Regions from separate parts of the Homo sapiens genome. Here region 2 is linked to region 1. Evidence: promoter capture Hi-C in human tissues and cell types (Jung and others, 2019). All regions are on one chromosome and are shown on one strand. The core of a region is centred on a gene start or on the middle of the fragment in contact, and the rest is flanking DNA. Distances in the headings are between cores, read along the strand shown.

Region 1 (6,330 bases), core at 2,651-5,150:
TAAACCAACTGGAAAATGATAACAATTCCAACAAGAATTGGGCAAAATATATAAACAGGAAATTTTAAGAGAAAATCCAAAAGGTTAACATGTATATGAAAAGATGTTCAGACCCAGAGCAAGTTAAAATAGAAATATAGTGTCATTTTACATCTATTACACTGGTAAAAGTTAATAACTGTATAATGCTAATTGTTGACATAGATATGAGGACACAGGATTGGTGGTGCAACTATACATTGGTGTAGTCACTCTGAAGAGCAATCTGATACTCCTCAGGCAAATTAAACATACACATACTTCATGACACAGCAATTCCACTCTAGATGTGTATCCCAGAAACACTTCTAGGTTCATAAGGGGACACATACAATGATGTTCATGGCAGTGTTATCTGTAGTGGTAGGGAGTTCAAGGCTACATAGGTTAGGTGTTCAAAACTGAATAAATCAGTAAAATGTGAGGAATGCACATGAGTATTATGCAGTAGTTAGAAGCAATGGACTAAATGTTCACATAGCAACAATAAGATATAGATCTTAAATGCCTTTTAGATATATCTTAAAACATATGAACAGGAAAGAATGCATAATTTGCAAAAACTTATAAAAACAAAAAATATATAATAAACACATTACAACAATTGCCAAGGAGAGGAGGAGAATGGGAGTGGAGAAAGGGGCTAAGTGAGGATAATCACCTTCTGTAAATTATAATTTACTTATGTTAATTGTCTATCTTTACTATTCTGTAGGCTTCATGAGGGTAGGAGCCTTCACCGTTTACTCTAACATCCCAATCACCAAGAAGAGTGCCTAACACATGATAGGTACTCAAATTTTGTTGAACTAATATATAAAGAGAAGGGCCCTTTACAGACTAGTTGTGATGATATCTGAAACATAAAGAAACAAAAAAAACAAGAATATGTGACATGAAGACTAAGAATATGGGAATATGATTAATCTAACTGGAATAGGGGTTACAGATTATGAAAAGCTGATTTTGAAACATTAATGATTTCACCTGGCACTAATATCTCGGAAGCACAATACTCAGTCGTAATTTAGAAATATGATGTCAACTTCATGGTGCCACATTACGGGGTAGGTCTTGGAGATACTGCCTCCACCTTCAGGGTCCATTAACAAGAAGCACACAATTACAGATTCAAGATATGTATAAGTAGCTTTGAAAAAAAGCATTTTTTAATAGCAGCGTAGCAAATTATATTTTTCTGTGTCAGACTCAAGTAGATCATCAGGATATTAAAATTTCAGACAACTGACTTGATCTAACACAACAACTTGTCCTGCTGGTAAAAGTGAAATAAAAAGTAATCAACTTTCCAGCCATATTCATATATAAAAATGATGTCATAATTATGTATTCTATATTAGAAACATATACATCTCTGCAACTTCTAAATTATTTCCTAGAAATTAACAGGACAGAATAAATGTCATCTTCCCTTATAGATTAATAATTTTTAAAATTATAATACAATTCATGTTGATAACCTAACCCATTTTTCCTTCCTCTACATATTTCAATACAACTGTGGTTTTACTGTTACATAGTATTTCCACTTCAGCAAACTGTCTTTTACATAGTTTCCATAGTAGCAGGTTTTGTGGGTATAACAATTTTCAAATATTTTCAGATACATTTTTATTTTCTACAAGTCTTGTTTCATTGCAGCTTCCTGCTCATTATTAATGACATTTATTCTTCCAGGGGAGTGTGAATAATACTTAAAACAAAAGGATCATTAACAAGCTGAGTTTTAAGGTTGAACATTTTTATTAAGAAAACTGTCTTTAGAGCACTTTGTTGAGAAAAGGCATTCCAACCTCTCTTTAAATAACAGCCTCAAGCTTGGAGGTCTAAAAATAAAATTTTGACTACAGTATTATAGCATAGGTAGTGAAAGCACAGTATTTGATGTGAGAGAAATGCCCACCCAACATAAAGCAGAAAGGGAAGGCTCTCCTTGCACTCCTGGGAGAAAAGAACAAGAAAGAGGAGTTTAAAAGAAAAAAAAAAGAGAGAGACAGACAGTAAACTGGACCTTGTTACTCAAAAGTGTGGGCCACGAACTAGCAGCACCTGGGAGCTAGTTAAAAACGAAAAATATCAGGCCCCACCCCAGGTCTACTAACTCAGAGTCGGTAAATTAACAGGATTCCCAAATGATTCATATGCACATTAAAGCGTGAGAGTCACTGAACTAAAGTAAAAGTAGAAGACTGGGGAGAGACACTTCCTTCATTATAACAGAAGGACAAGGTGAGGTTTGTATGTGGGTTAGTTTGATGGGTCGGTTTGAAAATGATCATGAATCAGTCTCATGGTTTCTGTCTTTAAAAGTTTTTATTCTTTCAGCAACAGTGACTTTATAAATTCTATTCATTCATTCCAAAAAAGCTAATGAGTGCCTACAATGTGCATTGTTTGACTTTTTTCAGTCCTCTACATTAGGGTCTCTTTTTGGCATGATAGTTTACTCATTTCCTTAATTTCAGAAATCTTCACTTTTACAAGATTTGTCCAAATCAAATCAACTGAATTACTGTAAAAGGCAGTAATCTTCTTCCTATGGATACACTATAAACAAAGTGCAATTTCTTTTAAAATGACAAATCATACTGGGACTAAAATGTCTTAGTCACAAAATGTAAAAACATAGTAAGATATACCAATGAATCTGGAACAAGAATATCCTTCCTGCAGACTGCTTGAAAGCATCAAGTATAAATTCAGCGCATATTAAACACATGCGATGTGCTAGGCCATCTGCTAAGCATTTCAGACAAAAATATGCATGAAATAGTCCCTATAATACAGTATGGTATATAGGGCTGACTTTATGGGACTGAAACCTATGTAGTCACACAGGCCTTGCATTTGGTTTAAATGTTCCTTTGTTGTTCTGAATAAATTTACCTTTGAAACTTTAAGTGAATGAAATACAAGTACGTAAACTCTTAAATGAAGCCTGATAGGAGAACGGACCAGGCCTATCTCCTGGTACGTGACCAGGGGATATGGACAAGTAAGGAAAACAGTTTTATATTTTACTACCTTTATTTTCATGGCCCTTTCCTGCTTTTTTGAACAAGGTACTCTGCATTTTTATCTTCTACAAGGTTGGGCTGATTCTGTAGCCAATGACGACAGTCAAATACAACTATGTGCTAGATACTGTGGTAGAAAGGACAATGGAGCCATTGGCCATGAAAAGGTCAATGATGACTTCACAGGGAAAATGATACTTAAGTTGGGCTTTGAAGGACAAAAAGGAGTTTGCCAGATGACTGGCACTCCAGAAAAGAACAACATTCTTACATAAATATGTAGACTTACAAGTGTACATTTATTTCCTCCAAGTTAAAAAAAAAAGCGCTTCATTGAAGTTTTGTATATTTTCAATACACTGTTTTTTACAATTTTTTAAAGAGCTGTGTACTAGGCACAAATTCCACTTCCTGGGGAAGCTCACCTTCTGGCAGAGCAAATGCAGGAATAAGAAATATACAGAGGTGAACAAACATGCCTTCGGTTTCGATTTTTACCTGGGTTTGTGCCTCTTCCCCGGGCCGGGGAAGCGGTTTGCGGGCTTTCGAACTGGTATGGGCTGTAGGCTTCGACCTTCTCCGAGGCCTGTGCAATCAACCGTGAGAAAGGGGTTTCCTCCTCGAAACGGAACTGGCTCCAGTTGGCATGGCCGCAGAGTTTTTCTATTTCTTTCACCAAGTACCTGCCGCACAGCTTCCTGGCACTGCTGATGTCGCTCAGTTCACGAGAAAACCGAACCAGCAGGAGTCCAAGCCACAGCAGGGACAAGCGGAGGAGCCGCGGCATCCCTGTGACCCCAGGCTAGTCCTCCGCGTTGTGCAATGGCGGTCGGCCGGACCCTGCTCCCTGTCTGCGCCTGCGCCAGGCCGAGCGGCGCGCACAAACACTGCGGAATTCCGAGCGCGTGGGGGCGTCGCCAGAACTTCAAGGGAAGGCGCGCGCCGGCTGCGTCAAGGCTTTCCCGCCAGCTCAGGGGTCTCAGGTGGTCGAAGGTAGCAGGCCCTGGCTCCTAAAATGAAAGCCAAAAATCCCCTCACTACCCCGCCACCCCCTAGTTTGATTCATTTTTCTTTCCTTCCTCAATGGGAGATTCCTCACCAAGCGTGAGAACATAGGATCCCTGTTACCTGATAACGTAGGTTAAAAAGTGTTGCTCCCTCCACCTGGAATGCGTTTCTCGTTCTTGTTTGCCAGGTTGTTAATAAAGCTTCGTCTCCCTCACAGAAACCCCCTGTCATCTCTTTCACGGTGTTAATCGACCTGTTTCCATTTGTGGGCGTGTAACCTCTTTCCTGAGACCCCCGCTTCATGAAGGCAAGGGCCTGCGTCTGTTCTTGCTTTCCATCGTACCCCGGGATCTGGCATTTAGCTGGCAATCAAATATGTGGTGAAACGTTTAAGTGTTGCATATGGCCATGTGCGTTTAGTCAGGTTCAAAGCTTCTTCAGAAAAATCCTACTGGTTCACAGGGAGGCATGGGCCTTAGCCTCAATCTCCAGAAAAAAGAAGTAGGGACGCTGTCTTGAGGTACCTGGGATGGAAATCTGGTTCTTTCGGTTAGATAATGTAGAGGATTGTGTATTACCAAATTAACTTGTGACAGGGACCCCTAGAGGATTTGCCTTGTAAGAATAACAGCATGCAGCATGAAATGCTCATTTAGGTGAGATAATTTTGCTCAGTTAGGAGGGAAGGGGCAGGGAAGCGAAGCGCAATCGGCATAGGTAGCTTTATCATTTTAAATGAAGTTCTGTGTTACTAGTGTGTTGGCGTGGAAGGATGTACTATCGGCCACAAGAGGGCATTCGGTGGCTGTCTCAGGAATAAGGTTCAGGATGCTGAAGCCACAGGTGCAAGCTTATCAGTGATCTCACCATTTCCCTATACAATTTTATTTTTTTCTCCCTTTCTTTTCTGTCTTCTGACTCTATGTCTTTTTCTTAATTTTCCGTTTCCCTATCTTTTCCCTGCTTCCCAGTGGCATCCATGAATGCTGTTAAATTAACTGCCAATTGGATTTTTTAAATGGTTGATATAATATAGATTAGTAAAATTTAATCACCTTCCTTAAAAAATAACTTATGTCCAAACTATAGTGGGCCATGAGTCCTAGTCAGAACTTTATCAGGTAAGGTTTTTGAGAACGGAAAATATTAATCATACTGAGATGAATGTAAGCCTTGTGGTAACCACAAGGCAAAACCTATAGTAGATATATAAAAGATAAAAAAGAAGAAATCAAGCATACCACTACAGGATATCATCTAATCACAAAGAGAACAAGAGAAAAAGAAAAGAACAAAGGATCTACAAAATAACCACTAAACAATTAACAAAATGCAGTAGTAAATTCTAACCCATCAATAACTACTTTGAATGTAAATGGATTATGTTCTTTGATCAAAAAACAGGGCTGAATGGATAAAAAAAAAAAGACTCAACTATATACTGCCCACAAGAGACTCATCAAAAGACTTGAACTATACTTTGGAACAAGTGGAGCTAACAGATATTTATGGGACATTCCATCCAACAGCAACAGAATACGCATTCTTCTAAAATGCACAGAGAACATTCACCAGAATAGATCATATGTTATGCTACAAAGCAAGTCCTAATAAATTTAGAAGAATAAAATAATATCAAATATCTTTTCTGGCCACAATGGAATGAAAGTAGAAATCAATAAAAGGAGGAACTTTTGAAAACTCACAAATATGTGGAAATTAAAGAACATGTTCCTAACTACCAGTGGGTCAAAGAAGAAATATAAAGGGAGTTTAAAAAATATCTTGAGACAGGCTGGGCTCAGTGGCTCATGCCTGTAATCCCAGCACTTTGGGAGGCTGAGGTGAGTGGATCACTTGAGGCCAAGAGCTCAAGACCAGCCTGGCCAACATGGTGAAACCCTGTCTCTACTAAAAATACGAAAAATTAGTCAGGTGTGGTGGCAGGCACCTGTAATCCCTGCTGCTCAGGAGGCTGAGGCAGGAGAATGGCTTGAACCTGGGAAGCGGAGGTTGCAGTGAGCTGAGAGGGCATCACTGCACTCCAGCCTGTGTGACAGAGTGAGACTCCATCTCAAAAACTCCAAAATGGAAACACAACATACCAAAATTTATGGTATGCAGCAAACACAGTGCTGAGAGAGAAGTTTATAGTAATAAGCACCTATGTCAAAAAAGATCTCAAATAAACAACTTAACATTGTATTTCAAGGAACTAGAAGAACAAAGTAAGCCCAAGCTTAGC
Region 2 (6,330 bases), core at 3,831-6,330, 550 kb after region 1:
TGGATACCCTTGTTAACTTTCTGTCTCTTTGATCTGTCTAATGTTTACGGTGGGGTGTTAAAGTCTCCCATTATTATTGTGTGGGAGTCTAAGTCTCTTTGTAGGTCTCTAAGGACTTGCTTTATGAATCTGGGTGCTCCTGTATTGGGTGCATATATATTTAGGATAGTTAGCTCTTCTTGTTGAATTGATCCCTTTAGCATTATGCAATGGCCTTCTTTGTCTCTATTGATCTTTGTTGGTTTAAAGTCTGTTTTATCAGATACTAGGATTGCAACCCCTGCTTTTTTTTGTTTTCCATTTGCTTGGTTGATCTTCCTCCATCCCTTTATTTTGAGCCTATGTGTGTCTCTGCACGTAAGGTAGGTCTCCAGAATACAGCACAATGATGGGTCTTGACACTTTATCCAATTTGCCAGTCTGTGTCTTTTAATCGGAGCATTTAGTCCATTTACATTTAAGGTTACTATTGTTATGTGTGAATTTGATCCTGTCATTATGATGTTAGCTGGTTATTTTGCACATTAGTTGATGCAGTTTCTTCCTAGCATCGATGGTCTTTACAATTTGGCATGTTTTTGCAGTGGCTGGTACCAGTTGTTCCTTTCCATATTTAGTGCTTCCTTCAGGAGCTCTTGTAAGGCAGGCTTGGTGGTGACAAAATCTCTCAGCATTTGCTTGTCTGTAAAGGATTTTATTTCTCCTTCACTTACGAAGCTTAGTTTGGCTGGATATGAAATTCTGGGTTGAAAATTCTTTTCTATAAGAATGTTGAATATTGGCCCCCACTATCTTCTGGCTTGTAGAGTTTCTGCTTAGAGATCTGCTGTTAGTCTGATAGGCTTCCCTTTGTGGGTAACCCGACCTTTCTCTCTGGCTGCCCTTAACATTTTTTCCTTCATTTCAACTTTGGTGAGTCTGACAATTATGTGTCTTGGAGTTGCTCTTCTCGAGGAGTATCTTTGTGGCGTTCCCTGTATTTCCTGAATTTGAATGTTGGTCTGCCTTGCTAGGTTGGGGAAGTTCTCCTGGATAACATCCTGCAGAGTGTTTTCCAACTTGGTTCCATTCTCCCCGTCACTTTCAGGTACAGCAGTCAGACGTAGATTTCATCTTTTCACACAGTCCCATTTTTCTGGGAGGCTTTGTTCATTTCTTTTTACTCTTTTTTTCTCTAAACTTCTCTTCTCACTTCATTTCATTCATTTGATCTTCAATCATTCGATCAAATCGGCTACTGAAGCTTGTGCAGGCATCACATAGTTCTCGTGCGATGGTTTTCAGCTCCATCACGTCATTTTAGGTCCTTGCTACGCTGTTTATTCTAGTTAGCCATTTGTCTAATCTTTTTTCAAGATTTTTTGCTTCTTTGCAATGGGTTCGAGCATCCTTCTTTAGCTTGGAGAAGTTTGTTATTACTGATCGTCTGAAGCCTTCTTCTCTCAACTCATCAAAGTCATTCTCCATCGAGCTTTGTTCCATTGCTGGCAAGGAGCTGCGTTCCTTTGGAGGTGAAGAGGTGCTCTGATTTTTAGAATTTTAGCTTTTCTGCTCTGGTTTCTCCCCATCTTTGGTTTTATCTGCCTTTAGTCTTTGATGATGCTGACATACATATGGGGTTTTGGTGTGGATGTCCTTTCTGTTTGTTAGTTTTCCTTCTAACAGTCAGGACCCTCAGCTGTAGGTCTGTTGGAGTTTGCTGGAGGTCCACTCCAGACCCTGTTTGCCTGGGTATCACTAGCGGAGGCTGCAGAACAGCACATATTGCAGAACGGCAAATGTTGCTGCCTGATCCTTCTTCTGGAAGGTTCATCTTAGAGGGGCACCCAGCTGGATTGAGGTGTCAGTTGGCCCCTAATGGGAGGTGTCTCCCAGTTAGGCTACTTATGGGTCAGGGACCCACTTGAGGAGGCAGTCTGTCTGTTCTCAGACCTCAGACTCCGTGCTGGGCAAACCACTACTCTCTTCAAAGCTGTTAGACAGGGACATTTACGTCTGCAGAACTGTCTGCTGCCTTTTGTTCAGCTATACCCTGCCCCCAGAGGTGGAGTCTACAGAGGCAGGCAGGCCTCCTTGAGCTGCGGTGGGCTCCACCCACTTGGAGCTTCCCTGCCACTTTGTTTACCTATTCAAGCCTTAGCAATGGTAGACACCCCTCCCCCAGCTTCGCTGCCATCTTGCAGTTCAATCTGAGTTGCTGTGCTAGCAGTGAGCAAGGCTCCATGGGCATGGGACCCTCCAAGCCAGGCGCAGGATATAATCTCCTGGTGTGCTGTTTGCTAAGACCATTGGAAAAGCGCAGTATTAGGGTGGGAGTGTCCCGATTTTCCATGTACCATCTGTCATGGCTTCCTTTGGCTATGAAAAGGAATTCCCCGACCCCTTGCACTTCCCGGGTGAGGTGATGCCCTGTCCTCCTTGGGCTCACACTCCATGGGCTGCACCCACTGTCTGACAAGCCCTAGTGAGATGAACCTGGTACTTCAGTTGGAAATGCAGAAATCACCCATCCTCTGCATCACTCATGCTGGGAGCTGTACACTGGAGCTGTTCCTATTTGGCCATCTTGGAACCTCCCATTTCATCTTCTTAAAGAAATTTCTCTGGGAGCCTTCTGGCCTGCTCCAAATTAGACTGCTTGCTTACTATAATCTTTAACACAGCTGTTTTTTGGCCTTCTGTCATAATTATCCTGAGATTCCCTTTACTCTTATTTGTGTCGGATCTTTTAATAGCTAATAGCTAATTAATATATGGATTTGGCTGCTGTGACAGAGACCTAAAATTAAAATAATTTATTGAAAACTGTGAATTTTGGTTCGTTTGGTTTACTATGTCCTTTACCATAGGATGAGCTGACTGAGTTATTTACTTGGGGGTCCTCCTACCTTTAGAGCCATACCCTTCCCTCTGTCCCTCCCTTCTGCTCCCCTCTCCCCTCTCTGTCTCCAGTGTTCCTTGGAAAAGAGTCCTGCAGTCCTTTCTAGAGGATATATACTTGGCTACCCCAGTATTCTGGGATTTGAGTTACAGAAGAGTTAAGCTAGCGGGTCCAAATTCAAGATGTGAACCTTTATTTTCTATCCCTGTTTTCAGTGTGGTCCATAGGCCTCTGGTGGAGGTGGTAGGGGTGGGGGTGTTTTGTTTTGTTTTTCTCCAAAGAAAAATATCCAGTTTTCCGTAGGAGTGGAGGTAGGGTATTTATTGGCTGCTCAGCTTTGGGGAAGTGCTCTGGGAGGACCTGGTTGCTTCTTTAAGTAGGTTTTGAACCACTTCTACTACATTTAATTTAGCCTTTCAAAGACCCCTGAATTCCCAAGCCTTTCGTGTACCCTACAACTTAAATTTAGACGTTTCTCAGCATTCTTCCCTGTCAGTTAAGGATTCTACTCATTGATATGCTTTCCAGCTTCTAAAATTTTCTAATGCCGCCTCCTATTATTTTTGTCTTTGCTGCTTTATGTTTTTTTAAACAAAAACTCTTTTCTCTTCTAGAAGTTACAGTTTTAGGAGTCCAAGAAGCTAAATATTTATATTCAGTCATCTCTCTTTAACTGGAAAGGAATTTAAGTTTTTAATGGCCTTTTTTAATTGTTGTCATTCTGTTTGGTATCAACTTTAATATTCCTATCTACTATCTTCCGTTATCAACTTTATTCAGATAGTAAGGTACTAAATAATGTATTTGTGATCACCTGTGTCAGAACATAAATAAGAATAAAAATAAACTTTTGATGAATTAGAAAAAACTCTTTTTTTTTTCCTATAAGGTGCATATATATTTGTAATTATCTTTGGGACTTAAATGTTTAGACTGGAAATAAAAATATTAGAGCTGAAAAAGTGATTGACTCTTTTCCAAGTACTTTAGAGTTAGTACAAAATATATTCTCAGTGTTTATTAGTATGTAATTAAATAATTTTTTCTAATAAGTTAAGGATTTAAAAACTAATGAAAAGCAGATGGGCATTACTAAATAAGGTATAGATAGAAAATACAAATTACAAGAAAACAGTACCTATGTATTAATGGTAATAGGGAAATAACTAAATGACATTTAACAGATGTGTTAAAATGTGATTATGTCAGTCCTCTGTGGAGACTCATTCAGTAGGACTAGATTATTAGGACAGAACCTCCTGAGGACTAAAAGAGCTGGAGAAAAAATATATTTTTTAATATGCTTGAAGCCCTTAGAGAGCAAACAAGACAGTAAAGAGTTGCCAGACTAAGGGAGGCCAGCAATCCAGTGAGCTAAGCCCAATATTTAAGCCTACAATGAACATGAACAAATTAGGCTATATGCAACAACACAGATAGATCTTACAGACATGGTAAGCAAAAAACAGCTAGACACAAAGGAATACATGCTATGATTCCATTTTAGGTAAAAATTAAAGGGCAAATAATGTAGGCATTTCTAAATTAGAGTATATATGGGTGCATGTTTAAGTGGTAATGATTTAAAAGAAAGAAGGAGGTGATTACCATGTAAATCTGGATATTTTTTGTTGTAGGGGTGTGAGGATACAGTGATTGGGAAGGGCACTATTGGGAGACTTTTGGGTACTCATGATTCTTGGCCTGAGTAGCAATTCCACAAGTGTTTGCTTTGTGATATTGAGATGTACATTTCATTTTCATGTATTCTTTATTATAATTCATGACAGAAAAGTTTAAAAAATTTGAATATTCTTCTTCTATATAACTTGAAGAAAAAGCCAAAATTCTTATGGTGGCCTTCAAAGCCCTAATTATCTGACCTCCTGTTACATCTCTTACCACATATACTACTTTCCTTTCACAACCCATCCACTTCACTCTATCCACACAGGCTTCTTTGCTGGTCTTTGAGCATGCCAGAAATGCTCCTACATTAGGGCTTTTACACTTGTTTTATTTCTTTGAGGACTTTCCTCAAAAGGCATCCTTATAGGGAAACCTGTTTAATATTACATCCTTCCCCTGTACTCCCTCTTCACCAGCATTGCTTAATTTTTTTTGTATAGTATTTTTTAACCTCCAGTATTCAATATACTTTTTTAACTTGTCTGTCTCTTGACTCAAATGTAAAGCAAGCATACAAGTAGAGATTTTGGTGTGCTAGTATAGCCTCAGCACCTAGAGCAGTGCCTGGTGAATGGTAACCACCTAGAAAATACTTATTGTAGGACTGAATTTCAGTCTAAGCAGCAGTTCAGAGAAATAATGCTCACTGCTGTCTTTACCATTTGTGACATAAAATGTCCAGTTTTATTATTAAAATTAAAAGATACAATTCCTACTAAAGCAAAGATTCCGTGTTTAGATAGTAGATTATATAGCTGATTGTGGAATTAAATGAAATCTGTAGGATTCTAGTTCATATAGTTGTGATTATATTGTATCTTTAATGTTTACTATTAGGATCATCCAAAAATAAAGTGCTATATTATAGTGTGCCACTTTTTCTGCTAACTGAACTAATGATTATGACCTTTGCCTTGGAATTTATCATCTAAAATGTCTGTGATTTGACAGATAGGAGCAAACAACTGAGCTGAATCTATTCTCTATATATGGAGATGGCATATGGAAATAGCATATATGCTTACTAATAATGTCATTTATTTATTGAATGCTTGTTGAATGGTAGGCATTGTCCTAAATAGTTTACATGTGTATCTTCATTTAATCTTTGAAACACCCTGAGAGGTAAATACGATAAGAAAACTGAAGCTTAAAAAAGATCAAATACTTATTTTGAGGAGTGAAAGCAGTCCTGAGCTGTCAGGCTTCCAGATACCATGCTATTAACCATTACACTATAAAGAAGGGAATTGTAGAGAATAGTAAGCAATTTTGCTTCTAAAGAATAAACCAAACAGAATGTACTACTTTTCACTGACTGAGAAGTTAAATACTATGTGCTAGGTGATGAGAATAATTACAGTGAGCAAGTTAGATGCTGTTTCCGCTGTCAAAATGTTTACATTCTAACAAGAAAGTCATCTTTATTTGAATTTGGAGATGAATTTCCATATTTTAGTGTTTTTTAAATAAATTAACTAGCACTGGACTGAGCTGAGTATTTATCAGACCAATTCATGAGAAGTTTGAGGTTTTAAGGGAGACTATTTGGTAGTATTTTAAGGGAGACTATTGTGGTAGTCCTGGTGGGATATTTTCCTCTGCAGATGAAACCAAATAAAGCATTATGAAATTGTATGTTTATTGAAGGAGAATTATATTGACTACGGTAAATTTGGAGAAACACTTTTTAAGCCTTAACTATTTTTCTTTATTATAGCAGCTTCATGGAGTTTGGCCACAAGATGTTGTTGACGGAA

What was found. Contacts are between HindIII fragments. The study calls those that stand out against the background at their distance.
Region 2: a fragment that was not itself captured here is called in contact with the fragment with the promoter of INSL6 in region 1 in 1 of the 25 tissues and cell types used here (mesenchymal stem cells).

Annotation. Positions count from the first base shown.
Region 1 is chr9:5,181,739-5,188,068 of GRCh38, forward strand. It overlaps INSL6 (insulin like 6), which reads right to left and starts at 3,901. Exons shown (of 2, transcript NM_007179.3): 1 at 3,576-3,901. The coding sequence starts at 3,864. The HindIII fragment of the contact is 6,352 bases long and covers 1-4,726 here.
Region 2 is chr9:5,726,098-5,732,427 of GRCh38, forward strand. RIC1 (RIC1 partner of RAB6A GEF complex) reads left to right here. Exons shown (of 26, transcript NM_020829.4): 7 at 6,291-6,330. Among named protein-coding and RNA genes, the nearest start is that of INCR1, 100 kb to the left of the region's middle. The HindIII fragment of the contact is 3,199 bases long and covers 3,482-6,330 here.